Regions from separate parts of the Homo sapiens genome. Here region 1 is linked to region 2. The links are contacts of gene promoters, found by promoter capture Hi-C in blood cells and fetal thymus (Javierre and others, 2016). All regions are on one chromosome and are shown on one strand. The core of a region is centred on a gene start or on the middle of the fragment in contact, and the rest is flanking DNA. Distances in the headings are between cores, read along the strand shown.

Region 1 (2,895 bases), core at 364-2,863, 620 kb before region 2:
TTCCCACTCCACACCCTGTATTTCTGGGTGTGTGTCTTTAATTCCTCTAGCGCCACTGGGTTAGGGTCTCCACGACCCAGCTGGTCTCGGCACTCTGGGATCCTGCCACGGGGCTGTGTAACCAGCCATCTCTGTGCAACATGCCCAGCACTGCCTGTCAGCATCTCCTGTTCAGGTCAGGCTAGCACCTCTCTCATCAGAATTCCAGAATTCCATCAGAGGCCAAGTCCCCCACCCCCACCTCCTGCCCTTGCTTTGGGGGCAACTTCCTGCAAGGTAACACTTCCTTTTCTCCACACTCCTGTATACAGACTCCTGGAGCAGAGTGTGCCATGAGGAAAAGCTCTCCCATCCCCCCATCTCCCTCCACTTCTCTATTTCTCAGCTAGGCATGGCCAACAAACTAGCTCAATAAAACTGGTGCCAAATATGAGGGGATGGGCAATTTTTATCTGTAATCAGTGCACTTATCTGCCACCAGCTCTGATCCTAAAAGACCTTGTGGCCTCATGTTTACAATCAGGAGACCCTCAGGAGGCTGTGTGTTGAGCGTCAAGAGGAACTCGGAGACAGCTATGATGCTCCAAACAGCTCTCAAGCATGCACCCTTATCAGCGCCATTTGGTCCAGGCTCAGAGTGTAAACAACCTGCCCAAGGTCACCCAGCCAGTAAGTAGGGGAGGCAGGGCTTGGAGCAGTGCTGGGCTCCAGAGCCCAATGATATAAACACAGTTCCAACATTGTTTTTTCTTTTTTCTTTTTTTGAGACAGAGTCTCACTCTGTCACCCAGGCTGCAGTGCAGTGGTGCTGATCTCAGCTCACTGCAACCTCCACCTCCCAGGTTCAAGCAAGTCTCCTGCCTCAGCCTCCTGAGTAGCTGAGATTATAGGCACATGCCACCATGCCCGGGTAATTTTTGTATTTTTAGTAGAGACAGGGTTTCACCATGTTGGCCAGGCTGGTCTCAAACTCCTGACCTCAAGTGGTCGGCCCACCTCGGCCTCCCAAAGTGTTGAGATTACAGGCATGAGCCACTGCACCTGGCCCCACTTCTTAAATCTTACATGGCCAAAAACATGATCAGGTGCAGTCAGCATTATCATCAGTGCCATTTTCCAAGGGAGGAAACCGAGGCCCATAGGGGGAACCAACATAGCCAGGTCTCATAGCAATTATGACGGGGAGCAGAATTTGAGCTCAGGTGAACCCAGTAATAATTTTATATTATTATATAATATAATAGTGGCTCACACCTATAATCCAGCATTTTAGGAGGCCAAGGTGGAAGGATCTCTTGAGGCCAAGAGTTCGAGACCAGCCTGGACAACAAAGCCAGATTCCCACTCTAAAAAAATGGAAAAGTTAGCCAGGTGTGGTGGCACACACCTGTGGTCCTGACTACTCAGGAGGCTGAGGCGGGAGGATCTATTGAGCTCAGGAGGTCAAGGCTGAAGTAAGCTTTGATCATAGAACCGCACTCCAGCCTGGACAACACAGTGAGACTCTGTCTCTCTCTCTACACAAACACACACAAACACACACACACACACACACACACACACACACGTATAAAATAAAAGAACAGCTCCCGGGTGTGGAGCAGCACACCCCATTGAATCCTTTCCACACCCCTTCCACATCAACATTACAATTACTGCCATTTTCCAGCTGTCCATGCTTGAGGGCAGAGTTTATGTGCCCAGAACCCATGGCCTGCAGGAAGAAGACCTGGGCCTCTGTGCCACCTACCTGACTCCTAAGCTTAAAATACAGTAGCCCTCTGCCAGGCGTGGTGGCTCACGCCTGTAATCCCAGCACTTTGGGAGGCCAAGGTGGGCAGATCACCCGAGCTCAGGAGTTTGAGACCAGCCTGGCCAACATGGTGAAACGCTGTCTCTACTAAAAATACAAAAATTAGCCAGGCCTGGTGGTGTGTGCCTACAATCCCAGCTACTCGGGAGGCTGAGGCAGGAGAATCATATGAACCCGGGGGGCAGAGGTTGCAGTGAGCTGAGATCAGGCCACTGCACTCCAGCCTGGGCAACAGAGTGAGACTTTGTCTAAAAAAAAAAAAAAGAGCCCTCCGTGCGTGTTATGCACATAGAGCATCGAATTTAATCTTCACCAAACCAAACAAAGGAGATACCACCAATGGAGCTATTTTCTGGAGGAAACTGAAGCTCAGAGATGTCCACTGCCACAGCCACACAGAGGGCAAATACTCCACAAGGGGATTTACATCACAAGCGCCAGGGTCTGTTTATTAAAACCCCTTCCCAGCAGAGGGCAGTACAGTGTCTTGTCCCAGCAGAAAAGGTCCTTCAGGCCACCCCTCTAAACACAGGAGCCAAGGGTGTTGACAGAGGGGCACCCTTTGCACCCCCAGGACTCCTATGGCTTAATAGTGGTCCTGATGGAAGAGGCGGAGCCAGGACTTGAATCCATGAGTGGCTGCCTCTAGAGGCGCAAAGGCCAGCATCGGAGGACCCTGTGGCAGCCAGGAGCGGAAGGTTCATGTTCTGCAGGGGCGCCCAGCCCACTGTGCCCCCAGCCGTCACTTCTTCTGCACGTGGCCACAGTCGTACTTGCCACGCACAACGGTGAGCTTGACGCCTGGCAGGTCCTGGGTGCGGCCGCCCTCCACAAGGACAATCTGGTGCTCCTGCAGGGTGTGGCCCTCCCCAGGGATGAAGCAGACGGCCTCGCGGCCAGTGCTGAGCCGCACTCGACAGCACTTGCGATTGGCTGAGTTGGGCTTCTTCGGCTTGCGGGTAAACGTGCACAGGACCACACCCTTCAGCTGCGGCCGGCCTTCCGTGGGGCCCAGCTTCCGAGGCGGCCGCTTGGGGGGCCCCAGGCGGTGCATCTGGTTCAGGGTAGCCATGGAGCAGGTA
Region 2 (2,888 bases), core at 315-2,814:
ATGAGGAGAAAATGGTGTTGGAGCCCAGGGGACAGAGGCTAAATCAGAGGTGAAGAAGAATGCGGGCATTTCGCTCACAAAAAGGAACCACAGTGGAGCCAGCACTCATCACTGAGAAACCAGGAGCAGCCCTTAAGGTCTCCAAAAAGACAACGTCTCAGAGGAGGAAGAGGAAGCCACAGCGATAGGGTCACTTGCTGACATCCTTCCGGATGCGCTATCGCTGCGCAGAAGTAACTTCCACCACTATGTTTTCCTGAGATAAGTCGGGGAGTCTGAGAGGGAGAGAAGGGGGGAGACTGAGAGTCAGAGAGAGGAGAGACTAAGGACGCTAGGTGGGCAGGGCTCTTCACTTGCAGGTGCGCCTGTGTGCTGTGAGTTGCTGGGGGTTGTAGAATGCTTTTGGTGGACAGAGGGAACCAGGTTGCAATGTGAGAACATTTTTATGAATTTCTGGGAAACTGCCTTAAGATCTATTCCAAGAGAGACACCTGGTTCTTCTCACCTAACTTGTTGGGTTTCCTTTTCTCACTCTAAATATTCACTTTAAGGCCGGGCACTGTGGCTCATGTCTGTAATCCTAATGCTTTAGGAGGCTGAAGCAGGAGGATGGCTTGAGCCCAGGAATTCGAGACCAGCCTGGGCAACATAGCAAGATCCTGTTTTGACAAAAAATTTAAAAATTAGCTGGGCATGGTGGTGCATGCCTGTGGTGCCAGTTACTGGGGAGGCTGAGGCAGGAGGATCACTTGAGCTCAGGGGGTCCGAGGCAGCCTGGAAAACAGAGGAAGACCCTGTCTCAAAATAAATAAATATTTACTTTAATACCTAAGGGATGTCAAAAATTGTATAAGCCCCTACAACTCCAATTAGCCCCTCAGGAACACAAATGTTTCTCTTTTCCTTGCTCCACAGCCTTTTCTGGCTCTCCAGTGCTCTCAATGACCCAAACTGAACGGCTGTCTGCAGAGAACTGCATTTCCCATCGACCTTTTCGCTCGATATTTACATTTTAAAAAATGTTTTGTAGCGATGGAGATCTCGCTGTTGCCCAGGCTGGTCTCGAACTCCTGGGCTCAAGCGATCCTCAGCCTTCCAAAGTGCTGAGATTACAGGCGTTAAGCCACTGAGCCTGGCTAAATTAAAAAAAAAAAAAATTGTAGGGATGGGGCGGGGCGAGGGTCACTATGTTGCTCAGGCTAGTCTCGAATCCCTGGGCTGAAGCAATCCTCCCGCCTCGGCCTCCCAAAGTGCTGGAGTTAGGGGCGTGAGCCCCGGCAAGGGGCAGACACTCATTTTCTGTCGTGGCAGACACCGCCTCCTCCTGGGATTGGTCCCGGCCTCGCCCTCCTGCCACTCAGGCCTTGACTCGCTTTACTGCATGAGCCCAGTAGCCCAGTCTCCGCCTCTTACGTAAGGCACCGCCCAGTCGTCCAGGCCTCCGTGAAGGGGGGGGCTGGAGGGGTCGGGGGGGTGGGGGCGAGGCCTTCCCTCAATCCTGACGTCCATTGGCTGTCTCTTCGCCGGCGGGGCGTGGGTACGGGAGCCGGGCGGGCACGCTCCGAACCGCGGCTTAGGTGGCGGCGGCGAAGGATGCACCCGGCAGGCTTGGCGGCGGCGGCTGCGGGGACGCCCCGGCTGCGTAAGTGGCGTACGTGGCCGGCGGAGGAGATCGGGCGGGCGGGGGCGTGGCGGGGCGGCCGCGTCGGTTGGCGAGGTCACTGCAGGTCAGAGGTCACGAGATCAAGGATCTGGAACCCTGAGGTGTGCACAGCGCTGGGATGCCAGGTTCGGGTAGGAGGCCCCTTGGGGGGCGATTCTTTAGGAAATTCCTTTAGAAGAAAACAACTTGGGACTGGATAGCGTGCGATATGCAGAGAAATGCAACTTTCATTCATTTGCAGTTAGCGATCCGCCCTTCCCTGCTCCCCACCCTTCCGTGGCTCCCCAGTACCCGCCTGCTGTCGCCCACACCCTTAGGACAGCTTCGTGGCCCCCCGGGAGCGCAGAGGGCCATGCCTACCGCTCATTTAAGAAGCGAACCTGTATTGTGCTGTTGGCCCCCTTTTCCTGTCTCTTCATCTCCGTGAGTGTGCTGTGTGTTTCATTTATTCATTCAACCTAACTTGTCTCAACTCCCATGTGTCAGGCCCTGTGTTGGGATGGAGATGTTGTGGGAGCCCTGAGGAGGCACATGACCCAGCCTAGGGGTGTCAGTGAAGCTTCCTGGAAGAGGATACTTCTTTTTCTTTTTTTTTTTTTTTTGAGACCTAGTTTTGTTCTTGTTGCCAAGGCTGGAGTGCAATGGCGCGATCTCAGGTCACCGCAACCTCCGCCTCCCGGGTTCAAGCGATTCTCCTGCCTCAGCCTCCCAAGTAGCTGGGATTACAGGCGCAGGCCACCACGCCCGGGGTGGTATAGACGGGGTTTCTCCATGTTGGTCAAGCTGGTCTCAAACTCCCGACCTCAGGTGATCCGCCCGCCTAGGCCTCCCAAAGTGCTGGGATTACAGGCGTGAGCCACCGCACCCGGCATGGAAGAGGATAATTCTGATCATGAAAAGTTACCCAGGAGAAGGAGATTTGTAGTGAGAGGGCAGGCTGGGCGTGCTGGCCTACACCTATAATCTCAGCACTTTGGGAGGTCGAGGTGGGCGAATCACTTGGGGCCAGGAGTTGGAGACCAGCTTGGGTAACAGCAAAATCCTATCTCTAATAAAAGTACACAAAATTAGCCGGGTGTGGTGGCGAGCACCTGTAATCCCGGCTACTTGGGAGTCTGAGGCTTGAGAATCACTTGAACCCAGGAGGCAGAGGTTGCACTGAGGCGAGATTGCACCAGCCTGGGCGACAGAGCAAGACTTCGCCTCAAAAAAAAAAAAAAAAAAA

Evidence for each region. Contacts are between HindIII fragments. The CHiCAGO score rates a contact against its expected background, and 5 or more counts as called.
Region 1: a contact is called between a fragment that was not itself captured here and the fragment with the promoter of YIF1B in region 2, in 1 of 17 cell types (neutrophils). The highest score is 5.6, in neutrophils.

Annotation. Positions count from the first base shown.
Region 1 is chr19:38,932,361-38,935,255 of GRCh38, reverse strand. It overlaps MRPS12 (mitochondrial ribosomal protein S12), which reads right to left. Exons shown (of 3, transcript NM_033362.4): 3 at 2,088-2,895. The coding sequence ends at 2,556. It overlaps LOC124904713 (a long non-coding RNA gene), which reads left to right. Exons shown (of 2, transcript XR_007067253.1): 2 at 1-433. Among named protein-coding and RNA genes, the nearest start is that of MRPS12, 2.9 kb to the right of the region's middle. The HindIII fragment of the contact is 303 bases long and covers 1,462-1,764 here.
Region 2 is chr19:38,314,623-38,317,510 of GRCh38, reverse strand. YIF1B (Yip1 interacting factor homolog B, membrane trafficking protein) reads left to right here and starts at 1,564. Exons shown (of 8, transcript NM_001039672.3): 1 at 1,564-1,651. The coding sequence starts at 1,594. RefSeq lists a silencer at 1,240-1,729. The HindIII fragment of the contact is 4,086 bases long and covers 1-2,224 here.